2 separate regions of the Homo sapiens genome follow, and region 2 is linked to region 1. Evidence: promoter capture Hi-C in 16 types of primary human blood cells and fetal thymus (Javierre and others, 2016). All regions are on one chromosome and are shown on one strand. The core of a region is centred on a gene start or on the middle of the fragment in contact, and the rest is flanking DNA. Distances in the headings are between cores, read along the strand shown.

Region 1 (4,313 bases), core at 497-2,996:
CTGTCAGGGGTCTCTGAGCCCCGACTCTTCTCATCACGCCACCCACCTTGCCCTGCCTGGCCCCCTTCCCTCTAGACCCATCTCAGAAGGCCCCAGGCCCTGTCTTACCAGCTGTCTTTGGGACGACATCTGCCTTCAGCTGTTGGGGGAGAAGAAGGACAAAAGAGGATGGTCATTGGAGAGGCAGGTGAAGGTGGGTGTCTCTCAGCACCCACCCACCCCCACAGTGGCCAAGGAGGCTAAGGAAGAAGCACGTGGACATTCCATTCCCATTATTGCCAACCCCCATGGGAGGCAGCTCTATCATTTCTGGGAGCCGTTTCCTGAACCCAAGGCTGGAGGAGGTGGCCTTGGTTTCCTAATCTGTCAGAAGAGATGACAATGCTATCTTGGCCTACTTCTGTGGACACAGCTGGCAGTGCTCCCACAGCTGGGCCCAAAGCATCAGAAATTCAGGGACAAGAGAGTGTGTCTAAGGTAGAAGCCAGACCAGCTCCTCCATTCGGGGTTGGGAAACTGAGGCCCAGGGAGAGGCATGAGGGTGTGGGGAGGGAAGGCTGAAGCCCCATCCCAGCCAGCCTCTACCCTCGAAGCTGCAAGACCCACCCTGGAACCAAATGGAAGCAGGAAGGGTGTCCCTATTTTCCAGAAGAAACTGAGAATGAAGAAGAAATACTAAGGGCTCCCTGGGATACGGGCCAGTCAACACAAACAGACCCCTGCTGTCAATGTGTGGCCGACCTGAAGGCTCCACTAGGGCTTTCCCTCTAAAGCTACCCTGGTGACTGTTTCTTACTTTGCTTTAGAAAAGACCCAAAAACAGAGTTAGGGGAGGTGCTCAGTGTGGCCCCCAAGGACAGTGGCAGGGGTTGAGGCGCCGGGCACACTGTCTCTGAGTGTGTCCCGACTCGCAGGAGGGGCATTCTGGGGTCCACCAGGTGGCCGGGGCCTGAGGCCTACTGGGCCCGCACTACTGCTGGAAACCACCTCTCGCTCCATTTCCCAGCACCCCCAGTGTGAGCCCGACCGCAGGGGCGGGGCCGGAGCCAGGAAGCGCTCCGTGTTGTGCAAGGGCCGCCACGTGAGCACCCGCTGGGCCACGACGCTCACCCCAAGACCCCCGACACCCACCTCGGAGCTCCGGATCTAGGCTCAGCCCCAGAAGGCTCCTGGAGCCCCTCCCTCGTGCCCGGGCCGGCCCAGAGGTGCTGAGCCCTCCCTCTCTGCGATCTGACCTTGAGCTTTCTCCTCCACACGTGCCCTCCCTCCCGTCTCCCCCGCTCCAGTGCTCCGAGGGAGGCCGGAAGAAATCATTCTGACGCCCATTCTCAGAAATGGGGAAACTGAGGCCCAGAGCTCGGCATGGGGAGGCCCAAGGTCACCCAGCGCGCCCGGCACCGCGCCGCCCGGGGCCCAGGGCTCTCCCCGGGCCCGTGTCCCGCGCCCAGGCCGGCCCTGCGAGCGGTCTCACCTCCAGCACCACGCGGCCGAGCGGCTTCCCGTTGGCGTCCACGTCCAGGTACACGAGCGGGTTCCCGGAGGAGGAGGAAGAGGACGGGTCGCCGGAGCCCTTGCTGCAGGCGCGGGCCGCGGGGAGGCGCAGCGGCACGGAGCGCGGGACGGAGAGCAGGCCGAGCCAGCGGGAGCCGCAGCGCAGCGCCAGCATCGCGGGCGCGGGTCGGGCGGGACACGGGCGGGGAGAACACAGAACTCAAACTGACGTCGCGCGCGCCCAGAAGGCCGAGTCCCGCGCAGCCGCGCGCCGCAGCCTTTATTGGCTTGCCCAGGTTCCCGGCCCTGCCCCCGTCCCGCCTCCTCCAGGCCTGTCCGTGGACTACCCCTGCCGGCCGCAGCGGGCAGCGCAGCCAGCCGGTGGGGCCGCGGAGCGTGAAGTGCTTTGAAACACTCCCGCCTCCAGGCCCAGAGACCCGGAGAACAGACACCTGGCAAAAGGTTGCTGGTTCCATGTTTATTAAGGTACCAGCAGATTTTTTTAAAAAAAGAAAAACTGCTAAAACGTAATTAATTCCAAAATATGAGCATCTATACGTTGCAATTTGAATATAATAGCAAAAGTCTACCTTTGAGCCCTTTGCAGGTAAGGCTCAGGCCAAATAAGCTTCCCTGCTGCCCTAGGTCCTGCAGTCTGAGAGGGTTAGAGAAAGGTGAGATGAGAGGCGGGATTAGTGAGCTAGAGGCGCAAGAGGGAGGAGATAAGCTGAGACACCTCCCATGATGCCCCCTAGCCTGCTTGTCCCGGCCTGGGCCTGTCTCTAGTTGTTTCTGGGGACCAGACCTGCTTCTAGCAAGACTGAAAACGCAGCCTGGGCTCATCATGCTCCTTTCAGGCCCCCAGCCCTCCCCAGGACTGGGTCTGATCCCTCCTCCTAGGACCCACACTGACAGCCCCGGGGCAGACTGCCAGCTGCCCCCTCCCATCAGCATGCACCCTGGGAGGGGACTCAGTGGGGAGACCCACAGCAGGAGCATTTAAACCCCACGTGCTGAAAGTGGGCTTCCCAGCAGCCAGAGCCACCCTCACTGCAAGGTGGTGGGAGGTCTGCAATAAATGGATGCCACGCAGGGACCTGAGAGAGCATCTGGCCCAACACTTGTACTGTCCCCAGGGGAAGCTGAGGCCTGGACACAGGAAGGCACTGGCTAGGGCTAGGGAGCCCTGGAGTATTGCTACCAGCTTGCACCAGTGCTCCAGGCCTCTCTGGGCCTCAGTTTCCCATCTGGAGGGTAAGGGTGCGATCATGCTCCTCATCCTGCTTTTTTCTCGTGTCTGTTCTTAGGATAAAATGAACGAGAGAGACATGGATTTGTCAACTAAGTACTGTGCCTGTGGGCATCTGTGATGGACAGAGTCTGGACTGTCTTTCTCACAGTTTGGGATTCAGAGAGCTGCGGTCTCAGTTAGAGGCCTGAGGGGTCAGAGAAAGGGGTGGGGCTGAGCCTTGGAGGCAGGTGGGCAGGAGTAGGGACCAGCTCTGGACTGACCTGCCCCAGATCCTGAATGGGCTCATGGGAACAGGTCAGGCAGCAAAATGCCAGCCAAGCAAATTCATGAGGTCAGAGCAGTGCCCTAGCTTCATAAGAATGCTAGCTTGGCCTCTGGAAGTTTGGCTAGCTTGGCTTCTGGAAGTTCATAGCCCCCTTCTCCGATTCCTGGCCTAGGAGGGGCCTAGGCACCCAGTGAAGCCCAGGTGGGATGCATTCCAGGTCCCAGCCCAGAATGGGGCCTCACTCTGCCCTGGGGAGCAGCCCCTCCTTTCTTATGATTGTGCCCTGAGGTGAGCAGGCCTGAGTGGGGAGCCCACTTGAGCCCTCAGCACATGTCCCAGACCTTCCTCTACCAGTGCATCCTGTGGATTTGAGAGTGGAGGAATCACGCCATGTGCCTTGTCATGAAGCTTCCTTAAGGCCCCAGGCTTCCCTGCGGCCAGTTCCAGGCCCTGAGCTCACAGGACCTTCAGCCACAGCAGGTAGCTCAGCGTACCCTGTTGTTTCTCAAGCCTGCTCCTGGGGGGACTCAGTTTATGCCCCATCCTGATGAAGCATGAGCATCCCCACCCCAGGGGAGTGCTGCCTTCATTCACTTGACCACTTCAGTTCTCAGAACCCTTTCCCAGCTGTGAACTCTGCCTGAGAGACAGCTCTGTTTTGCAGATGGGGAAGCCAGGCCCCAGGGGCTGGGGAGTGAATTGCCCAAGGGCAGGCTGTTGGAACTGGGACCAGTCTGTCTGACTTCACAATCAGGGTTATTGCATGTCAAACCCTTCTCACTCTCACCACGAAGCTGGTCCTTGGGACAGGGTGGGGAGGCAAGAGAGATAAGCCTGGGCAGACAACACAGTAAGATAGAAACGGTGGAGTTGGCCAGGGGGCTATGGAGCTCAGGGACTAGGGAGATGGTTTTAATAGTGAGCATGAGCTGAAAGGCCTGTGGGGACCCAATCACAGAGGGCTCTGAAGGCCTGGCTGAGGTCTGACATTGTTGGATAGCACTGGGGAGCCATGAATAGTGCAAAGACTCCATGCTGAGGACTCTGGACTGGGAACCAGCTTCTTTCATTCATGTTACTCCTTCCACTCTCTTTGGAAAATCAAACGTCATCACTACCTCCTAAGCCAGAGAAAAGCCTACCTTCCCCAAAGGCTTAGCTATGATGTCATCCCTTCCTGTTCTGTTCTCAGTGGTATCAGGAAGAAGGATAGTCTATAGGCTAAGCCATGAGCTGAACACATGCCCAGCCCTTGAGGGCTCCGGGCCCAGGTGACATCAGGCAGGTGTTAGCACTCACCTGGCT
Region 2 (4,313 bases), core at 1,057-3,556, 150 kb before region 1:
TGGGAGGGAGCAGGGGGAAATATTGTGTTCATTTTACGGAGACAGAGCTACTGGCCAGGGATGGACTTAACTAAGCCTGAGTCTGGCGAGACAAGGGCAGATTAATGCTGATCAGGTACAGTCCTTTCCCTGGGGCTGGGGTGGGGCTAGGAGCAAGGGTTTTGTTCAAGTGTGTTACTGGCCAAAGGGGCTTGAAGCCAGGCCCAGAGGTGGGTGAGGCAAATATCCCTTTGGGACAGAGCAAATCTCCCTCCAGGAAAAGAAGACAGCTGGACCTTGCCTGTCTGGGCCATGATGAGCCAAAAGAGTTAGTGTGTTTGACTTTACAACCTACCAACCCTTTCACAGGTATGGTCTCATTTGGGCCCTCCAGCCACCTATCAGGGAATAAATGTGTTTATAGGTGAGGAGAGGAAGGCACGAGGGCAGAAGATGCTTGCAGGAGGAGCAGGTGGTGGCTGGAACTCATGGCTCCAGATCCCTTGCTGACTCTATCACCTATCTAATGGGAGGAGCTGACACTCGTACACTTCCCCGGCTGTGGACTGAGCCCACTAGGGAGGTAGGGTGGTCCCTCCAAGCTTACACCATGCCCTGTGCTGGAAGGCAGAGTAAACCCACACTGAACAACTAAATTTCCAGGTTTCATCCCCGACTCAGCTGCAGTTTGGGAAGCCACTGCTGCTCCCTGGGACTCAGTTTCCCCACCTGGAAAAGCCAAGCCCTGTCCAGTTGATGAAGCTCAGGTAGGCTTCAGTGAGACTTGAGCACAACTAGGCTTTGTGCCTTGTTGGACTCCAGTCACTAGCCAGGAGTTTCCAGAAGCTTCTGTGGGAGATCATCCTCACCCCATCCCTCTCCCTCCACCTTCCTGTTCTCTTCCCATCCTCTTCTCCCACTGTCCTTGTCCATGAGATCTGAATAAAAGCAAAGCAACTTGTAAGTGCTCTCCACTTCCCTGTCCAGCAGCTGCTCCAGTGAGCACCATGGCAGCCACAGAAGCTGCCAGGAGAGGACACTTTATGGGAAGAGGACTCTGGATGGGGCTGTGCCTCCTCCCAAGGGGTGAGTGGTGATAGCAGGACTTACTCCAGGCTTTCAATGACTTTCACTTCAAAAAGGAGCCCACGATGGAACAGCCCAAATGTCCATCAGTGGATGAATGGACAAACAAGATGTGGTCTGTCCATACAATGACATGTTATTCAGCCATAAAAAGGAATGAAGTACTGACCTGGGCTACAAGGAGGAACCTTGAAAATGCGACGCTACGTGTAAGAAGCCGGACTCAAGAAGTCATGTAGTGTGTGATTCCATGTGTATGAAACACCTAGAACAGGTAAATCCATAGAGATAGAAAACAGATTGAGCAATGGCCAGGGGCTGTGGGGACAGGAGAATGGGGAGTGACTGCTTAATGCCTCTGCGGTTTCCTTTTCAGGTGGTGAAAAACGTTTTGGAACTAAATAGAGGTTGCACAGAGGTTGACAGCAGTGTCAATATACTAAATGCCACTCATCAAATGGCTAATTATTTGTAATGTGATCTCAATTTTTAAAAATGGGGCTAATGCAGTAGGCGCAGGGTACCTGCACCGCCCACCTCCCCAGCCTTGGCCACCTCTAGCTTCCCACTGCAGGGCCCACCAAACACCCTCCTCTGCTATCCTCCTTCAATTCCAGGCCAGCCTTGACCTGGCAGAGGGTTTTTAAACCACCTGATGCTGAGCCACTGCCCCTGGGGTTCCACAAATCTTAACACAATTGTCCCCATTTATTAAGCACCTATTGTATACTATGCCCTTGCTGAGGCAGTCCTACACCTCTGTCAGGCAGGCACATTCTCAAGCTCGACATGGGAGAGAGATGGCTCTCATTTCATGGGCTGATGGTGAGGACATGGTGTCCAGCCTGTCTCAGTAAGCACCCAGTGTGAGACAGCTGCTCCAGTCACTGTGAGATTATTGCAGTCTTTGTTTCACACGTGTCCAGGCTCTGGGCTCAAGTGACCTGTTCAAGCTCAGCCAGCTGGTGTGAAAGGTCCATTGGGCCTGTGACAATTGCAGGCCGAAACATGGAGTTTTGACACAGAGGAAAGGGAAATGGGCAGTTGTTTGAGGGTTGGGGCTCCTGGGACATGATGAAGAGGCCTGCAGAGCCCTGAGCCTGTGGCCTCAGAGAAGAGCAGGCCTGAGTAGGACAAGGACAGAACACAGGAGCTTCAGAACAGAGGGACAGACAGAAGGTAGAGGTAGTAGGAGCTGGAGGGGCAGGGAAGGCTGCACAGGACCCTCGGGAAACAAAGGGGTTTTTCTCACCTATAAAATGAGGCGATGACACCATCCCTGGAAGCAGATCTGGTAACCAGTCCCAAACCATAAGCAAGCAGCCTCAGGCCAGATGTAGCCAGCACTAGAAGCCATTCTGCTTCCTGGGCAGGGTCTTGAGCTGTCTCCAGCCCAGACAGAGTCCTCCAGGGCTCTAGAACTTCATCTGGTCATTTGTCCAGTAGTCTCAGCTGACAGATGAGGAAACTGAGGTCTGGAGCGGGTTTAAGGGACTTGCCCATGGTGTCATTGCAGAGTGCGGCTGGGGCCTGGGTCACACACTCCTTCACTGCACCACGCTGGAAACCTAGATTGATAAGAGACAACAGGGAGCCCAGGACCCGGTGGTGTGAGACTGAGGTCCCGGAAGGCCGCATGTCCCCAGTCTCTCTCCCTAGACTTCTCCCCTGTCCTGGAATCTCACCATTAGAGAAGGACTTGCTGGGAGTAAGGGGCCACCTACTACTCCATGTTTGGGGTTAGTTTATCATCCCAAGGTTGGGACTGTGTAGAGTCAGTCTTTCCCCTGAAGGTATCTTTGGGCCGGCTGCTCAGGCCTGTCATCCCAGCACTGTGGGAGGCCGAGGTGGGCATGATGCTTGGGCTCAGGAGTTCAAGACCATCCTGGGAAACATGTTGAAACCCCAACTCCACAAAAAATACAAAAATTAGCCAGCCATGTTGGTACCCACCTGTAGTCCCAGCTACTCAGGAGGCTGAAATGGGTGGATTGCTTAAGCCCAGTAGTTTGAGGCTGCAGTGACCTGAGATCACACCACTGCATTCCAGCCTGGGTGACAGACAGAGACCTTGTCTCAAAAAAAAAGTATCTTAGGAGACACCTAGTAGAATTCCCCATACAGTCCCTCAGTAAACCTGCAAGGGCAGATTTTCCCCCCAGCTTGGCTTGGATCCCTGTTTCTTTGGTGGACACCAGAAGGAGTAGCTGGCTTGTGTTTCAGGATCATGTATGATCATGCAGCACCATCTGTTCCCCCAGGGTCACTCCCAGCACCTAAATGAACTTGTACTGTGAGGGAGACTGGAGGCCCAGCGGGAGCAGATTCATGCCTCACCCTGGGGACCCATCACCAAGAGGAACTAGCATGGGGGTCTCCTGCACCAGCCAAGTCATTCTCTCCTCACTGTCACTCTGGACCAAGCGTGTTCTGTGGAAGTGGCCTGAGTCCCTGGTCATGGGCCGCTTGTATCTGGGGCAGGGGGTGAATCACTCACTCCCTGCATGCTCCTGGGCAGGTGTGTGGCAGGTCTTTTCCAGGCCACATGGTGGCGTGAAGAAAGAGCATGGGCTCAGAATCATCACAACTGGGTTTAAATCCTGGCTTTACCATTTCCTCTTTCTGTGAACCAGTCAAATTTCCCACCCTGTCTGGCTCTTGTTTCCTTATTTGTCAAAAAAAACCCAGCAAGATAGTTAAGGATATAACCAAACAAGCTTTTCATGTAACAAGCATTACACGTGTAACACACACACACACTCTCTCTCTCGCCTTTCCCTGGGGTGGGTGTGGAGATGTTGATAGGGACATGGAAAGGAGAGTCAGAGGTTGTTGCTCTGGGAGGCAGTTGGAAGGGACATTTAGGGACCTGGGGGAAGGAGGAGGCTGGGAAGGCTTGTGGGTGGGCGTACTACCAAACTAGGAGGCTCCACCCCAAGGCAGGTCCCGCCCCACCACACTGGGTAGAAGGTGTCCCAGGAAGCCTGCCCAGCCAGAGAACCAAGGGGTGGACAAAAAGGCAAACATCAAAGCTGGGCCAGAGGTTTTTGGCCAAATGAAGAGCAGCAGGAATATGTCTGGAGTTGAAAGGCCCAAGAAACCCCAGGTGTCTGAGCTCCCCAGGCTTCAGAGAGACCAGGGTTGAGTGGCTGGAGACTTCTGGATTCTGTCCAGACCCCTGGCTAGCCCTGCCTGGCTGTCTCTTTGACTCATGTATGGGGAAGAAAGGAGGGAACAGAGGGAGGAGA

The links. Contacts are between HindIII fragments. The CHiCAGO score rates a contact against its expected background, and 5 or more counts as called.
Region 2: a contact is called between a fragment that was not itself captured here and the fragment with the promoter of PPIF in region 1, in 1 of 17 cell types (M1 macrophages). The highest score is 5.1, in M1 macrophages.

Annotation. Positions count from the first base shown.
Region 1 is chr10:79,344,902-79,349,214 of GRCh38, reverse strand. It overlaps PPIF (peptidylprolyl isomerase F), which reads right to left and starts at 1,746. Exons shown (of 6, transcript NM_005729.4): 1 at 1,472-1,746; 2 at 109-139. The coding sequence starts at 1,666. RefSeq lists cis regulatory regions at 765-1,265, 948-1,448, 977-1,477, 1,480-2,002, 1,470-2,002 and 5 more and silencers at 1,313-1,542, 1,563-1,972. The HindIII fragment of the contact is 8,142 bases long and covers 1-2,121 here.
Region 2 is chr10:79,490,687-79,494,999 of GRCh38, reverse strand. No RefSeq gene overlaps it. Among named protein-coding and RNA genes, the nearest start is that of EIF5AL1, 20 kb to the left of the region's middle. RefSeq lists a cis regulatory region at 3,420-3,920. The HindIII fragment of the contact is 2,957 bases long and covers 828-3,784 here.